Linked DNA regions of Homo sapiens: regions 1, 2 and 4 are each linked to region 3. The links are contacts of gene promoters, found by promoter capture Hi-C in blood cells and fetal thymus (Javierre and others, 2016). All regions are on one chromosome and are shown on one strand. The core of a region is centred on a gene start or on the middle of the fragment in contact, and the rest is flanking DNA. Distances in the headings are between cores, read along the strand shown. Region 1 overlaps SMARCA5 (SNF2 related chromatin remodeling ATPase 5). Region 2 overlaps GAB1 (GRB2 associated binding protein 1). Region 3 holds the start of GAB1 (GRB2 associated binding protein 1). Region 4 overlaps USP38 (ubiquitin specific peptidase 38).

Evidence for each region. Contacts are between HindIII fragments. The CHiCAGO score rates a contact against its expected background, and 5 or more counts as called.
Region 1: a fragment that was not itself captured here is called in contact with the fragment with the promoter of GAB1 in region 3 in 1 of 17 cell types (neutrophils); the score reaches 12.1 in neutrophils.
Region 2: a fragment that was not itself captured here is called in contact with the fragment with the promoter of GAB1 in region 3 in 8 of 17 cell types (naive B cells, total B cells, M0 macrophages and 5 more); the score reaches 9.3 in naive B cells.
Region 4: a fragment that was not itself captured here is called in contact with the fragment with the promoter of GAB1 in region 3 in 6 of 17 cell types (neutrophils, erythroblasts, megakaryocytes and 3 more); the score reaches 12.6 in neutrophils.

What each region holds. Positions count from the first base shown.
Region 1 is chr4:143,528,640-143,535,158 of GRCh38, forward strand. SMARCA5 (SNF2 related chromatin remodeling ATPase 5) reads left to right here. Exons shown (of 24, transcript NM_003601.4): 8 at 1-75; 9 at 1,819-1,887; 10 at 6,216-6,325. Among named protein-coding and RNA genes, the nearest start is that of SMARCA5-AS1, 17 kb to the left of the region's middle. The HindIII fragment of the contact is 500 bases long and covers 1,001-1,500 here.
Region 2 is chr4:143,474,364-143,480,650 of GRCh38, forward strand. It overlaps GAB1 (GRB2 associated binding protein 1), which reads left to right. Exons shown (of 10, transcript NM_002039.4): 10 at 1-202. Among named protein-coding and RNA genes, the nearest start is that of SMARCA5, 36 kb to the right of the region's middle. The HindIII fragment of the contact is 2,419 bases long and covers 1,329-3,747 here.
Region 3 is chr4:143,332,539-143,338,913 of GRCh38, forward strand. GAB1 (GRB2 associated binding protein 1) reads left to right here and starts at 4,338. Exons shown (of 10, transcript NM_002039.4): 1 at 4,338-4,722. The coding sequence starts at 4,651. It also overlaps the pseudogene LOC124900789. RefSeq lists enhancers at 3,145-3,354, 4,264-5,077 and silencers at 3,547-3,714, 3,655-3,954, 4,055-4,114, 4,185-4,234. The HindIII fragment of the contact is 8,165 bases long and covers 246-6,375 here.
Region 4 is chr4:143,196,529-143,202,857 of GRCh38, forward strand. USP38 (ubiquitin specific peptidase 38) reads left to right here. Exons shown (of 10, transcript NM_032557.6): 4 at 1,295-1,396. Among named protein-coding and RNA genes, the nearest start is that of USP38, 15 kb to the left of the region's middle. The HindIII fragment of the contact is 1,441 bases long and covers 3,784-5,224 here.

The sequences.
Region 1 (6,519 bases), core at 1-2,500, 190 kb after region 3:
CCTCTTCAGAACAACTTGCATGAGCTGTGGTCACTTCTTAACTTTCTGTTGCCAGATGTGTTTAATTCAGCAGATGTAAGTATTTCCTGGTGCTTTCTGGTTAATAATAATATTTTGCTTAATGCTATATATTTTTGTAATAAAAGTGGCCTGCCTTTTAGCATGGCTTGAGGTTATTATTAATTTTTTATGCTTTTATTTACATAGTTAGCCTGGTGTTATCTCCTAGGTTGTCTCTGTATAATGGGAATTTACTTTTGTGCCTTTGGTTTCAATCTTATTTCATTATTATTATTATTATTTTATTTTTTTTGAGACGTAGTCTCACTCTGTCACCTATGCTGAAGTGCAGTGGTGTGATCTTGGCTCACTGCAGCCTCCACCTCCGGAATTCAGGTGATTCTTGTGCCTCAGCCTTCCGAATAGCTGAGATCACAGGTGTGTGCCACCATGCCCGGCTAGTTTCTGTGTTTTTTGTAGAGATGAGGTTTTGCCATGTTGTCCAGGCTGGTCTCAAGCTCCTGGCCTCAAGCGATCTGCCTGCCTCAGCCTCCCAAAGTGCTGGGATTACAGGCACGAGCCACCACACCAGGCCTCAGTCTTCTTTAAATCATTGTTTTCTCTATCTGAAATGGCATAAATTGTCACTCCTATTTGGTAAGTCAGGTTGGCCTGACTTTGTTTCAGTGGCTCTAGGTTGACTGGTTATGTTTTTAAGGTGCTGCTCAAGGTATTCCTGAAGTGATTTGTATACCTCACATTGCTTATGTTTTAAGTCCCAAGGATGACTGTCAAATTTAGTGAAATCTGTCTGGCTTTTCTTATATTATAGTCTAACAAACAAATAGAACCTAATCTTTATGGATTATTTATAGTCATAGAAAGGATAGTAATGGTTAATTAGCTATTTGAACTGTTAATAGTAATATAATAACTATGTCAAGAGTTTGTGCTATTAGAAATTGCAGTTTTTTTTGCCTGGACCAGTGTTTATTTTTGAAGCTTTGTTTGCATAGCTGGCGTCTTATGTGTATTGGAGGGATTTGAAGAGCTCCATGTTAGTATATTTTTGTACAATTAAGTTATAAAAAGGTATTAATTAATTTTGTTTTTTTTCTGTTGAAGATTGTTTTGAAAGAATAGATTGTGTTGTAAAAAGATATTTAATCAGACTCCAAAAGCAATTTTAGCTTCGATTTTATGTATTTTGATGTTTTTGAGATAATTCCTGTTTCTCACTACATTGACACTTTCATTTACTTTAAAGCAGTGAATTCTAAGATTATGTTTACTCAAAAACAAAGCACATATATAATACATATGTTCAAGAGATGAGGTTAGGGAAACTGCCCTTGTTGAAATCGTAACCAAATATTAATGAAATGCTGGTAATTTCAATTTCATTTAGTAAGTTTGATTAAAATTGACATTGTTCGTAAACTTGTATTTGAGTAGTGCGAATGGTCTCAGAGAACAAACTATAAAATGTTTTAATTTTCAAGCTTTTATGAAACTTGAAAGATACTTTACAAGAATATTAATTTTCTAATCCTATAGAACTTGCTCTCCAACTTTTTACTGTGAAACTTGTTATTTTGATGTTTTTGAGAAGAATGTTTAGAAGGTAGTGTGATTTCTGAACTACTTGTTTTAAAATTAGTAACAATGACACATGAAAACCAGGATTGGACTAAGTGATTTTTTTTTGTGGGTTACAATTCAAATTACTAATTCTAGAAATCATTTCTATATCTGGTATTATAGGGTATTTGTTAATATTATCTCTGATCTGAGTATATTTTTTGTTTGTTTATCTAGGACTTTGATTCCTGGTTTGATACAAACAACTGCCTTGGGGATCAAAAACTAGTTGAGAGGCTTCATATGGTAAGTATTTTGGAGTAGTGTTAAAGCATATTTATGATGGGAAAAAGGATAAAGGTTTAAATTAGTAGATTATTTTCCTGTTAATAAAAAACACAATGGCTTAAGAATCAGATCTGCTTGAATTCTGACACTTAACTCTTACATCTTACAATCAGTGTAGGGGGTGATGTGTGGTTGTTTCAGTGTTAGAACCTAGAATGGAATCCTGACTTAAGGGAGAAAGTATTCTCTTACAGTTATACAAAATACAGTGGGGGGAAGAAGAATTGCATAATAATTAATATAGACAAGTTTTTGTTGTTGTTTTTGAGACAGTCTCACTTTGTCGTCCAGGCTGGAGTGCAGTGGCATGATCTTGGCTCACTGAAACCTCTGCCTCCCAGGCTCAAGCAGTCTCTCCCCATTCAGCGTCTAGAGTAGCTGGGGCTACAGGCTCTGGCCACCATGCCCAGCTAATTTTTGTATTTTTTGTAGAGATAGTGTTTCACCATGTTGCCCAGGCTAATCTCGAACTTCTGAACTCAAGTTATCAACCTGCCTGCCTTGGCCTCCCAGAGTGTTGGGATTACAGGCATGAGCCACCACGCCCGGCCTTAATAGACAAGTTTTTAAAGCTTAGTTCAATTTACATTCCATGGAAGAATCTAACAGGTTCACTTTTGAAAGGGCTAAAGATCCATCTGTTTTTTCTTAAATCTAGCTACATTGTGTATAAACAACTGCTAATATTGCATTATGAGCACAGTTGGTATGTTTTTGCTTGCTGTATAGCTTTGTTTCTACATACAGCTTCCTGTGACGGTTCACAAGTAAAAGTTGGTAGGTAGAGAAACTTCTCTAACAGACACCAGATTAAAATACCCTGCTAAGCAGGTTAAAGCAGGAGCTTGTAAGAATGTTATATAAAGCCCTTAATGACCTAACTCAGGAATTCTCAGCCTCTTTTGACATTTTGGTCTGGGTATATCTGAGAGGGGTAAGGAGAGAGGGGAGAACGTGATTGTCCTGTGTATTGTAGCATGTTTAATAGCATCCCTGATACTTTTACTCACTAGATGGCAGTAGTAACATTCCTCCAGTTGTGACAACCAAAAATTTCTCTAGACATTGCAGATGTCCCCTGGGGAACAAAATTGTGCCCCTCCATGACCTAACCTTTTTAACATTCTTTGGCATCTGTTTTACTTCTTCATATATTGAGCTTTAATTTGATAGATTGCTGACCCCACTGTCAGTTTTCTGTAAACATTGTGGTAATTCTAATCTATTTTTGCTTATCATTTTTGCTACACCTAGAATCCTTTTTCCTGGTCTCTTTACTAATACCTAGTCCAAGACTCAGCGACATCACCTCCACTGAACCAGCCAGGCTGAGGCTGGCCTAGGTGCCCTTCTGTGTATTCCATCTTTAACAATCTGAGCATCCTAATATTATAGGACTTTGCAGAGGATATTGAGATGATTCACAAGTGTTTTCCATACTGGATTGTAAGCACAAAGGCAGGAAGCACAGATTTATTTGTCTTTGTATACCTGGCACAATGCCTAGTTAGAGTGGATATTTGAACAGGGAAAAAAATTTAAGTTCATGATTGTTCAAATATTTCATTATAAAGTACTTTAAAATTCTTAAATATTGAGAGTTTTGTTAAATATTTGAAGGTAGTAATTTCCTAGCTACCTTTGTTTCAATTCAGATGGCATTCATGCATCTAAGCACTCTCTTTGTATTTACTTAGACCAAGGATTGTGGAGTGTATATGTAATCTTGGGGGTAGAAAAGGAGGCAGAAGAACATGATTTTTTTTCATGCATTTTTTTCCCCTTATTCCTCTGCTCTTGGCTTTCCTTTAGTAAATACGTAGGTACATCTAGGTAAAGCAAATGAACAACCCATTCAGCAGTATCAACCAGATTTGGTAACTCTGTTTTGTTCACAGGGTATTTTGAAAATGCTTATGAAGTCAGGGAGAAGAGGTCTTGTAGCTACCTCTCTACTTTCTCCTGCTCTTTACTTTGAAGTTTCTACAGTAGCACCTGTGGTCTTATAATGAAAGGAGGGTTTAGAAGTCGGTATGGATGCGCTTAGGAATGAGATAACTCTTATTTGATGTATTAGTTATCTAATGCTGCAAAAGAACCCCTTATTCCCTCCACCCCCCAAAAACACCTTAACCCCCCTTTAGGGGTTACTAAGACCCCCTTATTTCCCCCACCTCCAAAACACTTCATAGTTTATATTTTATTAACAACCCCAGAATTTATGGGTTGACTGGATGGTTTCTTTGTGGATTACACTTGGGGTTATCCAGTTACATTTATTTAGCTGGACAATGCTAGAAGAGAACCGGTGGGGCTAAAGGTCTTCACTTACACATCTGGCAGTTGCTGCCGCCTGTTGACTAGGGCTGAACTAGCTTTTCTACGTGGTGATGTTAGAGAGGTGTTGCTGGTATTTTTCCCACTAATGTCTAATTTGGTTTGTGATATAGTCACTATTTTTAAAAACCAGTGTAAATAGAACAGAGGTACAAAAAAGGGTATCTTTAGTTGTGTAGTTAATTTTAAAACTTACTGTTCTATGAAAATGAGTGAACTACTACTACATATAACATGGAAATGTCTCATTGTTTAATAAAAGAAACCAGATATAAATGGGTGCATATTGAGTGAGTCCATGTATATAAAGTTAAAAATGATAGGCAAAATTAATTTATGGTGTCTAAAAATAAGAATATTGCTTACCCTTGGGAAGGAAAAGAGGGGATAGTGATTGGAAGGGACACAAAAATGATTTCTAGAGTGTTCTATTTGGGTAATAACATGGGTACTTTTACAGTACTTGAATAAAATTTCTAGAACTGTACACTCATGATTTATTGAAGTGTGTACTTTTATATTCTTTCCCTAAGTTAGTACATTAAGTTTAAAGACTAACCATAAGGAGATCTTAATGAGACCCTTGTCCATTCTTTTTTTTTTTTTTTTTTTTTTTTTTTGAGATGGAGTCTAGCTCTGTCGCCCAGGATGGAGTGCAGTGGCGCCATCTTGGCTCACTGCAAGCTCCGCCTCCCGGGTTCACACCATTCTCCTGTCTCAGCCTCCCAAGTAGCTGGGACTACAGGTACCTGCCACCTCGCCTGGCTAATTTTTTGTATTTTTAATAGAGACGGGGTTTCACCATGTTAGCCAGGATGGTCTCGATTTCCTGACCTTGTGATCTGCCTGCCTCGGCCTCCCGACCCTTGCCCATTCTTAGGCACTGTTAGACAGTCTGCATGCAAGTAACTAGTTTTAGACCTGAAAGGCAGCAAATTGTTGAAAACATTTTAAAAATTTACTATTGTTTTTAGTATTTTATGGTAGTATAACAAGTATATACTCAAACATATACAGGCACATCTCATTACCCTTTGCAGTGCTTCACAGATACTGCATTTTTAAGAAACATTTATTTTGCGAAACAAATAGATGGTTTGTGGCAACCCTGTGTCAAGGAAGTCTATCAATAAACACCGTTTTCCCAACGGCATGTGTTTACTCTGTTTTTAAAGCAGTAATGTATTGCTTTAAATAATGTATCACATTTTTAAAGCAATAATGTACTTTTAAAATAAGGTGTGTACGTTGTTTTTTTTTTAGACATAATGCTATTGCACACTTAATAGTGTAAATGTAACTCTTAGATGCACTGGGAAATGTGACTTGCTTTATTGAGGTAGTCTGGAACTGAGCCTACAATATCTCTGAGGTATGCCTTTATTGAATAAGTAATGGTCTTGTATTACTACCCTTCAGGAACCCAGTAGTAATAAATTATATACAGTTAGCCCTTCATATCCATAGGTTCCACATCCATAGATTCAATCAACTATGGATTGGAAATATTTGTCCCCAAAAAAGATAAAAATAAAATAGATGGTTCCATCTGTGTTAAATATACCGACCTTTTCCTTGTCATTATTCCCTAAACGGTATAGTGTAACAACTATTAACATAGCATTTACATTCCATTAACTATTATTATAAGTAATCTAGAGATGATTTAAAGTATATGGGAGGATGTTTGTAGGTTATATGCAAATACTACATTTTTTATAATGGACTCGAGCATTTGTGGATTTTGGTATTCAAAGGGAAGGGGACAGGAACTAGTCTCCCACAGATACTGAGATATGACTGTATTTGCAGGGAGAAGTCCTAAGAAATCACTTGATACTCACGCAGAGAAATTTCTTTTTCATGTATTTTATATACAATTCTAAGATGCTGAAATATGACCTTATGTGTAATATTGGTATTACCTGTTTATTTTTGTCCTTTTTAAGGTTTTGCGTCCATTCCTCCTTCGTCGAATTAAGGCTGATGTTGAAAAGAGTTTGCCTCCAAAGAAGGAAGTAAAAATCTATGTGGGCCTCAGCAAAATGCAAAGGGAATGGTATGTATTCTCAGATGTACTTGATAGCACTATTGATTCTTCCCTAAATTTCATGTGTATTTTGTTTTCCTAATTTGTGTCTTCATGGAATTCCAATTTGCTGGATTGAACTCAACCTGAAAAGAGTTTTCTTGTCACGTAGTATAGGACTTGCTCATTAAGTTCGTTATAGAAAGTTTTGAACCTGTTAGATG
Region 2 (6,287 bases), core at 1,288-3,787, 140 kb after region 3:
GAAATTTAAAAATTAAAATAATACCCAAAACCCACTTTATCAGATATGGTATTGTGATGGTTAATATTATGTGTCAACTTGGTGAGGCTATGGCGCCCATGTGTTTGGTCAAACACTAGCCTAGATGTTGCTGTGAATATATTTTGTAGATGTGATTAACATTTACAATCAGTTGATTTTAAGTAAAGCAGATTCTCATCCATAATGTTGTTGAACCTCATTCAATCAGCTAAAGGCCTTAAGAGCAAAAGCCAAGGTTTCCAAAAGAAGTAATTCAGCCTCAAGATCATAACAAATTAATCCTAAGTTTCCATCCTGCTGGCCTGCCTTCTTGTAGATTTTGAACTAAAGAGTGCATCATCACCTCTTACCTGATCCAGTTTGCTGGCCTACCCTACCAACTTCAGACTTGCCAGTTCTTACAATCCTGGAGCCTTTCTTAAAACTAATTCTCTCTGTCTCTCTCCATCTCCCCCGTGTGTGTGTGTATATATATATCTTCAAAACACATATAAAACATGTAAGTGTTGGTATATAAGAATATATAGCTATCTTACAGATATGTGTATCTTATTGGTTCTGTTTTTCTGGAGAACCATGACTGATAAACATACTGAGTCATTAATCTGAGTGCCTCTCATACCAAGCAATGATTTTGAAGTTTAATTTGCAATGTGTTAGCAGTCTGCTCCAAAAGTTTCTTCTGAAGCCATTTACTGACAGTGAACCATGTTTCCACTTCTGGCCATAGCTTTTTATCTTCTAGGAACCATTAAATCAACATCTCCAATGATGGAAAATAGTATTCTAAGAAGAACACAGATTATTGGATTCTTGTCACAAAGGGTACAGAATACTATTAAGGACAGAATTTCATTTGTAACACTGGGTTGTAGTCTTCACCTCTTCACCCTTGTCACATGCTATGACCCTACACATTTATTTAGTTTTCCCTGCTTTAAATTTCTAAAACATATTACCCATGTACATCTAAAGCTGTTTTTTAATCAGCCTTATTAAAACAATGTGTTTGAAAGTTGCTTATTCCGGTCCTTAGACAAAACAGTAATTTTGAAAGTCAGACTAAGAAGAAAATACTGTTGTCCCAGATTTTGATTCTAATTGATGGTGGCTTATTAATAATTTAGTCATTTCACTAAGCTACACATGTTGAATTATTCAAGGTGCTATGGGAAACATGAAAGAAATCTACCTCATCTTTATCTTTACAAATATGTGTGAAAAAATAATACAGGACAGTAAGTTATTATTTCTGAGGTACCAACTATGAGCTACCAAAGAAAAAACAAAGTTCTGTATTTAAGAAAAGCTTCACAAAGATGGAGATTGAGCTGGACAATGGAGGATTTGCAAGAAGGTTGGCTTGCTACTGGTTTGTTTCATGAGAAGAGGTAAAGAAAAAGACAAAAGCAGAATATGGAGAACTATGTACTGGGTGGAGGCTTATGAAATATTGTATTAGTTACGGTGTGTAATCAGAATGTAGTGACTTTAAAAAGTCATCTATTCTCACAGTTTCCATGGTCAGAAATTCAGGAGTGTCTTGGCCGAACAGTTCTGGTCCAGAGTCTCTACTGAAATTACAGTCAAATTACCTGAGACTGGAGTTATCTAGGGCTGAAGGATCTGCCTCAGGTGGTTTACTCACATGGCTGGCAAGTTGGTGCTGCCTGTTGCTGGGAGCCTTTGTTCCTCTTCATGTGGCTGCTTCACAGAGCTGCTTGAGTATCTTTGAGGCATGGGGGCTGGCTTCCCCCAAAGCTAGTGATCCCAGAGACCAAACAAATGACCTAGCCTTAGAGGTCACACACTGTCATCTCTGCTGTGCAGTAATGGGTTGTACAGTTCACGCCTTGATTCACTGTGGGAGGAGACTTGCAAGGGTATGAATACCAGGAAGTAAGGATCACTGGGAGCCATCTAAGATGCTAGCAGTCACAAAGGCAAAATTAAGAGTTGAGAGATGAGGCCAAGGATGGAAGACCTTGGAAACTCAAGTGTGTTGGTAATTAAGGACTTGAAAATGTCAGAACAATAACCCAAAGCATGGAAAGAGTAGGCCACAAGAAGTCAGGAGGCAGTTCTAAACCTAGGTCTGTGAGTTTCAATGTATGTTCTTATAAAACTATTGAACAGTTGCTGTTCAATGTAATACATATGTAGTCCTCATACTACAAATTTATCACTGGTCAGTTGGCTAGAAGTCAAGCATCAAGGCTGCGTTGGTTTGATTTCTTCTGAGGTCTCTTCACTGGTAGATAGCCATCTTCTCACTGCGTCCTCAGATGGTCTTTTTTTCTGTGTTGGCACCCCTGGTTCTGCTCTCTCATTATAAAGACATCAGTCATACTAGATTAGGTAAAATGAATAATTTTACCTTAATTACTTCTTTAACAACCCTATCTCCAAAAACCTGACACATTCTGAGCTTGTGGCTATGTTTATGTCTCATCTGCCTGGCTATGTTAACTTTTCCCAGCAGGAAAAGATGGCACACTCAAAGAAGTAATTGAGGAGAGTTGAATGAAGGGACTATTGTATGGGTAGGGTTAAGGGAGCCAACAAGGAATGGTTAAAAACCCTGAGTAATCTGCATGTGGTGGTGCATACCTATAGTCCCAGCTACTCAGGAGGCTGAGGCAGAAGGATTGTGTGAGTCCAGGAGTTGAAAGCTGCAGTGAGCTATGATCACACCACTGCACTTTAGCCTCGGTGACAGAGCAAAATGACCCCATTTCTTAAAAAGTAAAATCCTGAGCAACGGTAAGTGACTAGCAGCAGTGAGAAGCCATTACCACTTCTAGAACTAAGGAGGCAAGTGGAGGAAGCTGTTACACCCAGCAAGAGCTGTAGCTGGTGGAGACAGTCTGCCAACAGACACTTTAATCTTAGGTAAAGGGACACACACACTATCAAATGCTGACCAGCAGTGAAGAAACCAGGGTACCTCTCTCACAGCTTGCCATTGGCTAAAACCAACCAGCCCCCAGAAAGGCTGGGAACCCAGAATATGTAATACATAGAAGTCAGTCTCCCAGGGCACTTGGGAAGGCAGAGAAGGGTGGAGGTACAGCAAACAGAGAAAATCAGGTACAGCAAACAGAGAAAATCCTTAACAATCTTCATTATCTGTCATCATGTCAGACCAGTAAGTCAGTTAATCTTTTATTGATCATCCTCATGGACATGAAGCATCTGTAGAAGATTGGCTTGCTGAACAGCTGATCCAACCTCTCTCTGGAGTACCCTCCTGTATTTAAGAAGCTGTAAAGATAAAAACTACATTTCCCAGACTTCCTTGCAACTAGGGCGCTGCTTGTAATTAACTTTTCACCAGTGATACTTGCTTAATCTCAGAAACAGTTCAGTGGAGAGACAGAAGTCTGTGAGGCATCAATATTAAATCTCGCAGTTTGCATTTAGGATGTGAAGCAATGGATTCCTGCTAAGCAATTCTTGCAGTGGTGTATGCTTGGAGCCAATACTTGCCATGGTAGATTACTGTACTCTGAAGGTATTACGGTTTCAACCATTGGTGCAGTGGTTTCCTGAACCCAGATTCCCGATTGTTCCCATGTCTGGCAGCTCCGTAGCGTTGTTCTGAGAATCCTTCCTAAAGAGCCTTCACACCTACCAGTGAGTGGTGTGATTTTAATCTGCATTAAATTATCTGTCGTTTAAAAATTACTAGCGTGGCTTAATTCTCTTGAGCTGACACAGGGGCCAAGCTTGTTGCTTTCTGAATTTTTTTTCTACTTTCGCATTGTAAAACTGTAATTAAAGACAATTTGGGAGAGTAAGAAGAAAAATGCCCACAAGCCATGTTACTTCCCTACCTTTGCCTAAATGTGCAGCTGGACTCTACTTTTTGCATTAACTATTATCATAAATGTTTTCCTAGGTGTTAAGCATCTGAATTATTTTTAAAGACTGCGTAATTTTCCTTCAAATATTTTGAAATACTCAATGATAATACCCAATATTGATACAGATGTGAGTGATAGGACACTATCATCTATACCACTAGGAGCATAAATTGGTACAACTTTTTAATTTTTTTTTGAGACGGAGCTTCACTCTTGTTTCCCAGGCTGGAGTGCAGTGGTATGATCTTGGCTCACTGCAACCTCCACCTCCCAAGTTCAAGCCATTCTCCTGCCTTAGCCTCCCAAGTAGCTGAGATTACAGGCATGCACCAACACACCTGGCTAATTTTGTATTTTTAGTAGAGATGGGGTTTCACCGTGTTGGCCAGGCTGGTCTCAAACTCCTGACCTCAGGTGATCCACCCATCTCAGCCTCCCAAAGTGCTGGGATTACAGGCGTGAGCCACCACGCCCAGCCTCAACTTTTTCAAAGAGCAGTTTATACATACGATTTTAAAGTCTTGAAACTGTAGTTAGCCTTTAACCTAGCAATTACATTTCAAGCAATTAGCATTAACGAATTCATCACAAAAAATTGTCTCCAACGAATTAGGGGCTTATCCAACAATGGAGAGGAAATTAAGTTGTACATACACATGTATATAGCAATTTATAATATAGAATAATAATTTTTAAAACCATGTCCTTCCAACAGGGGAGACCTCAAAAAGGAAAGGTAGATCAAGTATTTGAGAGATCCAGTCTCACTTCATCCTTGTTTTAATTACGGTACCTTCACATTTTTGTTTGTACATTGGAAGAAAAGTATAAGGTTTTATTTGAAAAATAGGTTTTACTACTTGAAAAAAATGTTAGCTCTTGCAATAAAAGAATATTTGATGTCATGAATGGTTCTTTAAGACCATTGGTGTAAAAATTAAGACTATGTAACCTGGGTATAATCCTGTTTTTGCATATAACTAACAGGATTAAAACAGCAGGATATCACTACAGATACTGCAGACATTAAAATGATAACGAGAAAGATTATGGACAACCTTAGGCCAATATATTTGAAAACTATATAAAATGAACAAATCACTAGAAAAGACAACTTTCTAAAACTGAAAAGAAATTTGAATAGTTCTATATCAGCTAAAATGAGTTTTATAATTAAAAACCTTTTTCCAAAGAAAACTCTGAGCTTAGATAACATCTCGATGGGTTCTATCAAACATTTAAGAAACAAATAGTTTTACCAAACATTTAAGAAATAACAAATAAATCCTGGTAAATCAAGAATGCAAGGTTCTTATCAATAAAATAAAGGGGAATTAATCACATGATCATCTCAATTGATGCAGAAAATTGTTAAACTTCAACATCTATTCATGATTTAAAGAACAACTCTTAGCAACATTAAATAAAAGGGAAGTTTATGAAAAAAAGAATATTTAAACATTTATCAGCAAACCTGACACTTAATGCTGAAATATTGACAACTTTCTCTTTGAGACCTGGAACAAGACAAATATGTCCATTATCACCACTTCTATTCAGTATTGTACTGAAGGACATATGCAGGGAAAATTACAAGAATTTGAGAAAATAAATAAAACAGCTGTTATCCACAGATAATATGATTGTGTATGTAGAAAGCTGAAATAAATCTACAGGTAAAAGGTTGTTAGAAATAAGGTTAACATACAAAAATCAATTTTTGTATGTAACAATTTGAATATGAAATTTTGATAGCATCAAAAGAATTGATCAGAAACACATTTAAAATAGTATGTGCAAAACCTCTGCTATAAAATATTAAGAATAAAGTCAAAATAGAGGAATAAAAAAGAGTATATGATGTGCATGGGTGGGGTAATTCAATGCTGTGAAGATATCAGTTTTCCCCAAAGTTGATCTTTAAGTTCAATGCAATGTCATTCAAAATCCCAGGTTTTTGTTTTGTTTTTGTTTTTGTTTTAAATGAACCTGAGAAGCTGATTCTTAAGTGTCTATGGAAGTGCAAAAGACCAAGAATAGCCAAAATATTCTTGAAAAATAACAATGTGGAAGAAGTACTCTATAAGATTTACAACTTATTATAAAGATGTAGCAAGTAACATTGGTACCAGGATGAAAAAGTATGCCAAAGGAACTCAAAAGAGAACACAGAAACAGAACCACGTATATATGGACACTGATTTATGACACAGTAGCTGCAGAGCAGTGGAAAACAATGTGGACCACATGGATATCCATATAAATAAAAGAAGAAAATTGACCTGTGACTCATATTATAAGCAAGTATCAATTCCTAGTGAACTGTAGATATAATTGTGAAAGGCAAAACAATAACAAAGCTTATACAGGATAATTTTATCATGATTCAAAAAAAAAAGA
Region 3 (6,375 bases), core at 3,088-5,587:
AGCTTGAACCCAGGAGGCGGAAGTTGCAGTGAGCCAAGATTGTGCCACTGCACTCCAGGCTGAGAGATAGAGTGAGACTGCGTCTCAAAAAAAAAAAAAAGTCTTTTCCTCAGGGAAGTCCTTCCCAACCTACCGCCCTACTCCTGGGGGGTACATCCTCTGTTATATGCCCAAACAACACTATATTTTCTTCCATAGCATTTATCAACTGTATTGCCAAAATGATGGGGTTAATTATCTGCAAAAGCTTTTCTCTAGGAAAGAGGAGTGTGGGAACAGGTCTGGCTTTCCCCTACTGTATCCTGGGTCCTCAGGGACTGGCATATAATAGGCATCCCATAAATATTCGTTGTATGAATAAAATTTAAGATACTAACATATAATAACTTTTTCCAGCGTGCCTTTTAAGGCATAAAGATATAAAATATGATTTAACAAATAATCTAAACATGACATATAAAAATAAGGCAAATTTCCTTTCTAAAATATATACATGGAGACATATCTATCTTCAATTTCTCTTCAACCCTGATTTAATTTCTAGAAATACAAGCCTAAAACAACTCAGTAGAAGATAGGAAAAACACTTAAAGATTTTTTACATAGGAATGAGATAACTGAATGCCTTATTTGAAATAAAGAAAAAAATTTGTGGAAATTCCCAAAGCTAAATAATACAAGATATATTACAATTTTCCATTTACAAAGAACTTTATAACAAGAGTGTAGGAAATGGTAAATTTGCTAAAGCCAATAGTTAACTACTCAACAATACTAGTCTTACTAATGCTAATTATACTTTTGGCTCAATGTAGCTACATGCTGCCTATGGGAGAAGAGGAAAACAAATTTGATGGTTTATTTTCATTTGGAAGATTTGTGGCATGATTTATATTCACATACTTAAAAAGAAGTGCTTTGGTTTATTAGCTGCCATAAAAATTACGCTTGTTTATGTTTCAGAAAGAACATTAAGAAATACAGCAACAAACAGCAAAAATCCTACAATATCTAATATGTGCCTGATATTTAAAACTACCATTTCTTTTTTCCTTTTTTTCGAGACAGACTCTCACTCAGTCACCCAGGCTGGAGTGCAGTGGCCCTATGTCAGCTCTCTGAAACCTCCCTGTCCCGGGTCCAAGTGATTCTTGTGCCTCAGCCTCCTGAGTAGCTGGGACTACAGGCACGCGCCACCACACCCAGCTAATTTTTGTGTTTTTAGAAGAGACTGGGTTTTCACCACGTTGGCCAGGATGGTCGCGACCTCCTGGCCTCAGGTGACCTGCTCATCTAGACCTCCCAAAGTGCTGGGATTACAAGTGCAAGCCATCACGCCCAACCAACACTACCATTTTCCTTTTTATTTATTTATTTATTTTTCAGAGACAGTCTCGCTCTGTCTCCCAAGTTGAAGTGCAGTGGCACGATCTCGGCTCACTGCAACCTCCACCTCCTGGGTTCAAGCGATTCTCCTGCCTCAGCCTCCCGAGTAGCTGGGACTACAGGCGCGTGCCACCACACCCGGCTAATTTTTGTGTTTTTAGTAGAGACTGGGTTTCACCACGTTGGCCAGGGTGGTCTCAAACTCCTGGCCTCAAGTGACCTGCTCACCTAGACCTCCCACAGTGCTGGGAATACAAGCGCGAGCCATCGCGCCCGACTAACCGACCAACACTACCATTTCTTTTCTTTTCTTTTCTTTTCTTTTCTTTTCTTTTCTTTTCTTTTCTTTTTTTTTTTTTAGAGACACAATCTCGCTTTGTCGCCCAAGCTGAAGTGCAGTAGCGCGATCTCGGCTCGCTGCAACCTCCGCCTCCCGGGTCAAGCGATTCTCCTGCCTCAGCCTCCCGAGTAGCTGGGACTACAGGCGCACGCCGCCACGGCTAATTTTTTGTATTTTAGTAGAGACGGGTTTTCACTGAGTTGCCCAGTCTGGTCTCAAACTCCTGAGCTCAGGCAATCCACCCACCTAGGCCTCCCAAAGTGCTAGGATTACAGGCGTGAGCCACCGCACCTGGCCAACACTACCATTTCTATTTCTCATTAAACTTCTGCAAAATCGGTGTTGCAATTCCCATTTCACATATCGGGAAACTGAGACTCAGAGACATTGTGTAATTTACCCAAGGTCACGACTACTCAGTTGATGACCTGAAAAGTGCATCCAGATCTGCAAGAAGTTCCGCCCTTGTGATACTGTTAAGTGCCTGCCAAAAGATGACGGTCTCTAAACCCCAGTGGGAACCAGGCTTTTTCAGATTTTTCTTTTTTGAGACTGAGTCTCAATCTGTAGTTTTGTTGACTCTTTATTTGCTTACTACCCTATGCCACTACCTCCATATATGCAGGGATCTTTGTCTTGTCACCACTCCAGCACCTAATTTCTTATTACAATCATCTAACATTTTCAAACTCAGAGGAGCTTCAGAATATGAATGTTGTGTTAATAAGAAAATGACTGAAGTTATGTCTTTCCAGAAATGCTCATTTATGTCGTCATATTTTTAGCACTTTTATCTGATTATATTATCTGCTGAAATTGGCTTTGGGGCTTTTTCACAAATAAATTGGAGAAGATGTTTATTACAGAATCATGTTAAACTCAGGACCAGTATAATAATTGTGAAACACACAAGGAAGTAGGCAAATAGAACTAGGGTACCCAGTAAATTTCCTTCCTTCCTTCTTTCTCTCTCTCTCTCTTTTTTTTTTTTTTTTTTTTTGACGGAGTTTTGCTCTTGTTGCCCAGGCTGGAGCGCAGTGTCGCGATCTCGGCTCACCGCAATCTCCGCCTCCCGGGTTCAAGCTATTTTCCTGTCTCAGCCTCCCGAGTAGCTGGGATTATAGGCGCGCGCCACTACGCCCGGCTAATTTTTGTATTTTTAGTAGAGATTGGGTTTCTCCATGTTGGTCAGGCTGGTCTTGAACTCCCGACCTCAGTTGATCCGCCCGCCTCGGCCTCCCAAAGTGCTGGGATTACAGGCGTGAGCCACCGCGCCCGGCCAAGTGTCCCTCTTCTAGTCCAGCATCCGAACAGTAGATTTCAAACAAATACAAAGTTAAGTGGAATAGGCAACAAATGGAAGGGGTGTGAGACTTCAAAATGTCTCAGAGATAGGACCCAACCAAATCCTTGGCCTCGCCAAGCGCCCCCATCACTCTGGCAGAACAGCTCCAGAGACCAGCCCTGGCCAGCCCTGGGTCCCCATCTGTCCTCCCCTCCAAGCTGGTAGCTCCCGCGCCCTCTTGGTCTGTCCTTTAATCTCGCGCGGCGGGGACCGGCAGGATGGTGGTCTCCCCGCGGTTTTGCCTTTCAGGCTCTCAAGTAAAGAAAACCCTCGAAACTCCTGATCTCGAGCACAGCACAAGCTCCGAGCTGGCACCGGGCTGAGTCAAGATGGCAAGCCCCGGACTGAACATTCGAATGTCCCTCAGTCTTCCCCGCGCCCAAGCCCCGGTGCCTCTGCCCTAGCCGAGGCCTCTGCGGTCTTCCCGGGCGAGGAGCCGATTGGGGGCCGCCGGACGGCGGAGGACCCTGCTCCTGCTTCCCGAACTACAGATCCCAGGGTGCCTCTCGGACTCGCGCTCCCTCCCTCCCTTGCTCCCTCCCTTCGTCCGTCTCCTCCCCCGGCCCTTGTTGTTTTGGCTGGAAGCACTCCGGCGGAGTTTCAGAGAAAGTCTGGGCAGAAACCGGAGCCGGGCCTGAACGTGGGAAGGGGAGGAGGAGAGGGAGGAAGAAGGAGCCCGGCGGCCGGGAGAGGGAGGGAGGGATCGGGATCTGGGGCCGAGCCGCTCAGGACCTGCCGCGAGCCCCGGGGTGGGGGAGGCGGCGGGGGAGGAGCGCGAGGGGACGGGACAGCGGGATCCCTCCCAGGAGCCAAGCCGCCAAGCGCCTCGTTCCTCTGCTGCTCCCCGCCCTCTTCGGCGGCCGCGAGAGCGGACCCACCCTCCGGCTTGACCTGCGACCTCCCTGCGCCCGCCGCTCAGAAACGCCCCGCGCTTCGCTGCCAACCCTGCGGCTCCCTCTGTGACCCGGGACCAGCCCCGCGCCCGCTGCCCGTAGGCGGCTCGCGGCTTCCCCTTTCCTCGGCGTTCACCGAGCGCCGCGAAGTGACCCACCCTCCCCCGAGGAGAGGGAAGGAGGATCGCTCCGGGCGCATCGAAACCGAGGGCGGGTGGGCGGGCGAGCGGGCACCGCGCGGGGCATTGTGTGTGTGTGTGTGTGTGTGTGTGTGTGTGAGCAGCGCTGTGTCTGTTTCGGAAAGCGCTCTGGGGAGGTCTTGTCCCTAGGGGGCGGAGCGCAAAGGACAGAAGCTCCGGCACCGAGTCGGGGCAGAGTCCCGCTGAGTCCGAGCGCTGCTGAGGCAGCTGGCGAGACGGCACGTCTGGAGGCGAGGCGGGCGCACTGAAAGGAGGCCGGCGCGCCCGCGGCCCCGGCTCGCGTTCTGTTCAGGTTCGTGGGCCTGCAGAGGAGAGACTCGAACTCGTGGAACCCGCGCACCGTGGAGTCTGTCCGCCCAGTCCGTCCGGGGTGCGCGACCAGGAGAGCTAGGTTCTCGCCACTGCGCGCTCGGCAGGCGTCGGCTGTGTCGGGAGCGCGCCCGCCGCCCCTCAGCTGCCCGGCCCGGAGCCCGAGACGCGCGCACCATGAGCGGTGGTGAAGTGGTCTGCTCCGGATGGCTCCGCAAGTCCCCCCCGGAGAAAAAGTTGAAGCGTTATGTAAGTAGAGCTGCGGGCACCACTCCGCGGGCCTCGGCGTCCACACCCCTCCCCAGTCGGCTCGCCGGCGGCTGCAGCTGGCCGCGCGCGGGGCTGGTTCTTAAACGAATGCCGGTCTCTTTCCCCTTGGCCCCTACCCCTGGCGGGCTCGGGACAGGGTGCCTTGCACTCCCTCACGCCCAGGCATCCACTTGGCCGGACAACTTTCTTCCTCCAGGTTCCAGACAGCCTGCTTTGCGGGCCTGTTCGCCCCATAAAAGGACCTAGACGTCCAGCTAAACTCCTGCTGCATGCTTTTTTTCTTCCTTAGGAAGGATGGGGTGCGATGGAGAGAGGAGCCTTCTTCCTGCTTTATTCCTGCATCTGATTATTGGGCTGATGTGTGCTAAAGCTCCCGCACCGGGAAAACTGCCGAGGTTTTAGGGCTCACTAGCCCTTTCTTTGGTGGGCGCTCCCTCTCCTCCGCCCCTCGAGATGGGTTGCGGGAAGCGGGCTGTGGAGCTGAGGAGTTGGTAGTAGAGACAAGCATATCGAACGCGCGCAAAAGGGAAAGAAAGAAAAGTTATTACGCGCCCTGCCGTTTGCTTAGCAGGGTTCACATTTTCGCGGTTTTGAATTGAGGGACTTTGGAGTTTGGCCCGGGAGCCTTGGCGGTTTGCTGCGAGAGGAGGGCGCTGGGGGGGAGCCTAGTGGCTGGTGTTTGGGCGCCTTGGATGTGCTGTCAAACTCGGCAGGAGGGGACAGCTGAAGCCAGAAGGGATTTCAGTTGCGGTCCTTTCCCAGGGAACCAGAGTGGCTTTAATGGTGTTTGTGTAATTGATACAAGATGCTATGTGTTAAACCGTTTTAGCTGTTAGGAAAAATATTCCTTGAAAGTATCAACCTTGCTTTAGTGGAAACCTGTGTCCTCTTCAGAGGTCTGGGATCTTATTCTTCCTCCCCATTGGTTGTTTTGTTGCTGCTCCCTTGCAAAGGAAAGAAATGACACTTTTGTGCTGACATCTGGATCAAATATTTTTCTAGTAAAATGTGTTTGCAAAAGCAAAATTTATGCCCCCTTAAATATAATATAAATTTAATGCCTGTACGAAGGGAACCCGTTTGTCGTTGAGGAATATCTACACCCAGTATTAGAGCTCAGGTTAATCCTGTTAGTCACTGTTTGCTTGTATAGAACAGAGTGAAGTACACAGAGTGAAGTATTTAACTTCACTGACAACTCACCAGTGAATTTCTGATTTACTTTCTGCCAGAATTTATTATAGACAAGTAATTTTATTGAAAGACTCGATGCCACAAATCATAAGAAAGCTCTCCAGAGATGTGTAATGCCTCCAAATCCTGTCCATCTATCAGTTTTCCTGAATATCCTAGTAAAAATGCTAACTTTATTCCAAAAATATGAACGAGGCAGTGTTTTTTTTTCCAGCTGTTCTAAAGAGAAAGGTAGGGGTGTGTGTGTGTGTGTGTATGTGACAGAGAAGGAAGGGAGAAAGGGGTAGGGAGATAAATATATTTGTTTTGAGAAGGCCCAATTTAGGAAAAACAGATTCTTGGAGGAATTAAAGAATAACATATTTGCTGAACGTGAAAGTGATAATATAGGTTTAATTCATTCTTTCACATGGTTAGTTCATGGCTCACTCAAAAGAC
Region 4 (6,329 bases), core at 3,254-5,753, 140 kb before region 3:
TTTCCAGGACATTATACTCTCCTGATTTTTGTCCTCCTTCACAGGCTTATCAGTCTCCTGTACTTACTCTAACTTTTAGAATGCCTTACAGTTCAGTCTTTGGTCCATTTTCTTCTCAGTGCATACTCACAGCATAGGTGTTCCATGGCTTTAAACAACATCTCTAATTTGATGACTGCCAGATTTATATTTTTAGTCCATTTTTCTCCCTTGAACTCCATATTCATGTATCCATCTGTCTTTACATGAATCTCAGATTCACTTTATCTACAATCTTATTCCTGACTTTTCCCTCCCAGACCTAGAGGCTACTCTATCCTTTCACTTGCTCAAGCCAAAAACCTTGAAGCTATTCTTATCTTTTTTTCATTCCCTCTCAGCCCATATCCTACAAATTCTACTGATACCACCTTTAGAATATATCCAGAATCCTACCACCCTGGTCCTACATTATCATCCCTTGCTGCAAGATTGCAGCAGCCTTCCTGCTCCTGTCCTTGGTCCCCTGTACTTATCACACAAGGTCCTATGTATTCTGGCCCACTTTTTCTCTAGTCCCATTTCCCACTGTTACTGCCTCGGTCTCTTGCTTCACTTACACTGCCCTTTTTTCTTCATCTGTAGCACACCAGCCTGAAGGCCTCAAGGCCTTTGCAATGCCGTTTGCCCTGCCTATAATGCTCTTGTCCCAGGTATTTGCAAGGCTTATTCAATTCCTTCAGTTTTACAGTTGGATATCACTTCTTTCATGAGGCATTTATTGAACGCTATATAAAACAGCAGATTTTTTTGCTACACAGCATTCCCTATTCATCATACCCTGCTTTAAATTTCTTAATAACACTAACCACCATGTGTTACTTTTTATTGTTTCTACCTGCCCTCTAGATGGTAAACCCTGTAAGAGAGAGATGGTTTTTTGTTTTTTTAATCCACTGTTGTAGCACTAGTTCCTAGAACTAGGACAAGTAATAGTATGTGCTTAACAAATATTTGTTGAGTGAACTGAATGAATAGTGGACTAGGGAGCTATTGCCTTGTAAACATAGTTTGACAAATTTTTATTTAATTGGGGAGTTTTAACAGTTGGTTAGGCCAGTTACATTACCCTTGATCTCTGTCACGTTATTTCCTAACTTCATCCTTCTCCCAAAGTTTAATAATATAAGTTATGTTAGAACTTTCCAGAAGGGGGACATTCATATAAATAAATTCTAGCTCTAGGAAAATAACCACTGTTGGATTAATGATTTTCCTGCAAATTCTTAAGAAGGTGTCTTGTCTTATTTTGAAGGTTTTTAATCGACTTTGGTTTCCTCTTGTGAGACCTGGTGCTCTTGCAGTTCTTTCTCACATGCTGCTTAGCTTTCAGCATTCTCCAGAGGCGTTCCATTTGGTAAGTTATGACATAAACGTTCTACTTTGAAAAAGCCTCAATTTGAAAATTTAGTTTAATATTGAGTCACATTTTTATGTAGTGAAAATATTGCAAGTTAGTCCCAAATCTGTTTTCATATAGCTTTATGATTTCCTAGAAAATTGAGATTGTGAGATTTCCCTCCTAGGAATATATTTTCGTGTCTCATTCAAACTACTCCACTTGCAACAACTACCAGCAGTTGAGAGTTACTGTTCACATGGGAGATGTCACTGATGGATGTCTGTTGCACAAATGAACAGTATAGAAGGATTAAAATGATTGAAAACCACTGCTTTAGAATTTTGAAAGCATGAAAACACACCAGTCTTTGCAGGCTTTTCATTCACTCTCAGCCTACATCCTACAAATCCTGTTGACCCCACCTTTAAAATACATCTAGAATCCTACCACGTTAAGCCAGCTGAATCATTGGCGTTTATTTGATTTCAATTATTTGATTATCAGTTACTGCAGATGAGAAATGACAAATTGTAATTTTGGTCAGCTGTCCATTTACCACTCTAGGGCATCATAGGAAAACAGTGCCTTTGTGTGGTTACTTAATTCTTCCAAAGACTAATCCTGTTTTATAGGACTAGAAACTCATTGTCAATAAACCCACAGTGGAAAAATCTTAGGAATACTGATTCACCATAACAAACTTTAGAGGAGACTAATGAAGTTCAGAATTCCATTTGTTTTTATTTATCTAGAATATATTCACATAGGTTGCTCAGTGTCTCATTTCCACTGAAGGAAAGTCCACAGGCTTTGTAGTAAGTAAACCTTACTAGCAAGTAATTACATTACACATTACCACTTAGGATGAGTGATTTCTGCAGTTAATTGCCCTAATTTTGGTGAATTTAATCATCAAGCAGTAACCTTATATATATGTATAATACAAACAGAACTCAAACTCTAAGATAGCAGGTGTACTAGCAAAGTCTTCCAAGAAAAAAAACATCAATTACTTGTCCTTGTCTTCAGGCACAATCATGTGTAAGACATTTGAGAAAAGGCTTTGTTTTCCACATTTTTTTTTTAACTTGTTAGATTCAGGGAAACATGAAAGTTTGTTACATAGGTAAACTCATGTCACATGGGTTTGGTTTACAGATTATTGCATTACCCAGTTATTAAACCCAGTACCCAATAGTTATCTTTTCTGCTCCTCTACCTCCTCCCACTCTCCCCGCTCAAGTAGACCTCAGTGTCTATTGTCCCCTTTTTTGTGTTCATGAGTTCTCACCATTTAGCTCCCGCTTATAAGTGAAAACATGGGGTATTTGGTTTTCTGTTGCTGGGTTAGTTTGCTAAGGATAATAATAGCCTCGCCCTCCATCCGTGTTCCCGCAGAAGACATGATCTTATTATTATGGCTGCATAGTATTCCATGGTGTATATGTACCACATTTTCTTTATCCAATCTGTCACTGATGGGCATTTAGATTGATTCCATTTCTTTGCTATTGTGAATAATGCTACAGTGAACATTCATGTGCATGTATCTTTATGGTAGAATGATTTATATTCCTCTTGGTGTATACCCCATAATAGGATTGCTGGGTCAAATGCCAGTGCTGCTGTTAGCTCTTTGAAGAATCACCATACTGCTTTCCACAATGGTTGAACGAATTTATACTCCCACCAAGTGTATAAGTGTTCCCCTTTTTTTGAACCTCACCAGCATGTCTTCTTTTTTGACTTTTTAATGATAGCCATTCTGACTGGTATGAGATGGTAGTTCATTGTGGTTTTGATTTGCATTTCTCTGCTGATCAGTAATACTGAGCTTTTTTTCTTAAGCTTGTTGGCTGCATATATGTCTTCTTTTGAAAAGCGTCTGTTCATGTCCTTTGCCTGCTTTTTAATAGGGTTTTCTCTTGTAAATTTGTTTAAGTTCCTTATAGAGGCTGGATATTAGACCTTTGTCAGATGCATAGTTTATAAGTATTTTCTCCCATTCCGTAGGTTGTCTGTTTACTCTGTTGATAGTTTCTTTTGCTGTGCAGAAGCTCTTAAGTTTAATTAGATCCCGTTTGTCAATTTTTGCTTTTGTAGCAATTGCTTTTGGTGTCTTTGTCATGAAATCTTTGTGTCCAGGATGGTATTGCCTAGGTTGTCTTCCAGGGTTTTTAAAGTTTGGGGTTTTACATTTAAGTCTTATCCTTGATGTAATGAACATCGATACAAAAATCCTCAACTTGCAAAGCAAATCCAGCAGCACTTCAAAAAGCTAATCCATCATGATCAAGTAGGCTTCATCTGTGGGATGCAAGGTTAGTTTAGCATACACAAATAAATCACATAAACAGAAATAAAGACATAAACTACATGGTTATATCAATGGATGCAGAAAAAGCTTTCAATAAATTCAACATCCCTTCATGTTAAATACTCTCAATAAACTAGGTATTAGAGGAACATGTCTGAAAATAATAAGAGGCATCTGTGACAAACCCACAACCAACATTATACTCAATGGGCAAAAGCTAGAAGCATTCCCCTTGAAAACCAGCACAAGACAAGGATGTCCTCTCTCACCACTCCTAATCAATATAGTACTGGAAGTCCTAGCCAGAGCAGTCAGGCAAGAGAAGGCAATAGGTGACATCCATATAGGAAGAGAAGAAGTGAAACTATTTGTAGATTATATGTTTCTGTATCTAGAAAACCCCATAGTCTCAGCGCAAAAGCTCCTTCAGCTGATAAACAACTTCAGCAAAGTCTCAGGATAAGAAGTTAATGTAAAAAAATCACTAGCATTCCTATACACCAACAGCAGTCAAGCTAGGAGCCAAATCAGGAAGGCGATCCCATTCACAATTGCCACAAAAAGAATAAAATACCTAGGAATACAGCTAACCAGGGAGGTGAAAGATCTCTACAATGAGAAATACAAAACAGTGCTCAAAGAAATCAAGAAGACACAAACAAATGGAAAAACATCCCATGCTTATGGATAGGAAGAATCAATATCATTAAAATGGCCGTACTGCCCAAAGCAATTTACAGATGCAGTGCTACTTCAATCAAACTACCAATGACATTCTTCACAGAACTAAAAAAACACTATTTTAAAATTTGTGTGGAACCAAAGAAGAACCTGAATAGCCACAGCAATCCTAAGCAAAAAGAACAAAGCTGGAGCCATCACATTACCCAGCTTCAAATTATACTACAGGGCTACAGTAGTATATTAAAACAGCGTGGTACTGGTACAAAAACAGGCACATAGACTAATGGAACAGAATAGACAGCCCACAGACGAAGCTGCACACCTATGACCATCTGATCTTGACAAAGCTGTCAAAACAAGCAATGGGGAAAAGGCTCCCTCTTCAATAAATGGTGCTTTGACAACTGGCTAGCCATATGAAGAAGATTGAAGCTGGACCCCTTCCTTACACCATATACAAAAATCAACTCAAGATGTTTTCCAAATTTCTAGGAAGGAGATTCTCTGACATAACTTTATCATTCATTCTAATGTTTATTGCCCATATTGAGGACATTCCTTAATCTAGTAGTGGGTAATGTGGTAGTTAAATCACCTATAACTCCAAATAACTCAGTAAAGGACTTGGGCTTAGGAGTTGCTAAGTATGAGCAATAATCTGGAATCAGCATCATCATAATTCATCATAAGTTTAGAATATCTTAGGGCAAGCCAAGGTTGATGTTAGAATATGTGGTGTTATGGGTCAGGTTGCTTTTCTTATGCATTTTACCCAGTGGAATAAATTTATTTTAAACAGACACTATGGCAGATAGGAATAATGGAGAAAGAAAAAAAATCAAAGCTTCTAATTAAATAAGTTTTATACATTTCCTCAAAAACTTTAGTATTATAATAATGTCAAGAAACATTTAGTTTCACTTATTCAAAAAAATCAACTTTCACACATTTAGAAAGTAATAGCCTGCTTGGAAGTATATCTGTATAACTGTGAAAGACTAAGTCTTATTTCCATGTCGTGATAATGTTGACCATTTGAGATATAGTAATAGACAACCATATAACCTGATTACAAAGACCTAATCTAATTTGACAGATTTGGAATTATAAATTTAATAATTACTTCTAAAATTTTTGCCTCTTCTGTCTCCCTTCACCTTTGAGAAAACAAAATAATTTTGGATTTCTGACTTTTAGCAAGAGAATATCTGATAAATGTGGCTTTATGCGACAGAAGTATAATTCATATTTGCTTAGAAATGTAAAGATGATAGCAATAGAATGAACTCACTAGGAACTGGTAGTTTTATGGTCACATTAGTACCTGTGATGGAGGTAAGAAGGTAATGCAAAAGCTACAGTGTGATTTAAGCACAAATGTAAAGCTAGACAGAGCAGAATGGAAATAGCACTGTGTTGTAAGACTATGATTGTTCTTTTTGTGGGAAGGACGGGGAATTAGTGGGTTATTACTATAATTGCTGTTATTGCTGTTTGATGGTACGACCCTAATAGTTATAACTTTTTTACCATGAGTTAGCAACCCCAAAATGTTCTACAAATAGAACAGAAGATACCTTTTACCATAAGAAGTGTAAATATGTAGTATCAGATTATAATTAAAAATTAATTGAAAAAAATATAGTATCATACTAATGGAAAGAGCTATGTCTGTAAAATAGAAGTTGTTTCATTTTAATAACCTCCTAAAGATATGATTGGCTCTGGATTGATGACTTTTTAGTTTAATTTTACAATGAAAGAACATGGTTGTGCTGATGATCAATATTAACAATATTCTATATGTTTATGAGCAATGATCATTTTAGATTTCACTTTTATTTTTAGCCCCAGGTCTTTAAAACTAACAGAAGTTTCTGATGCCCTTTATTTTTAGAACCATCTCATCTTTTGCTGTGAAATGGGATTTGTTAGTAAGAATAGCCA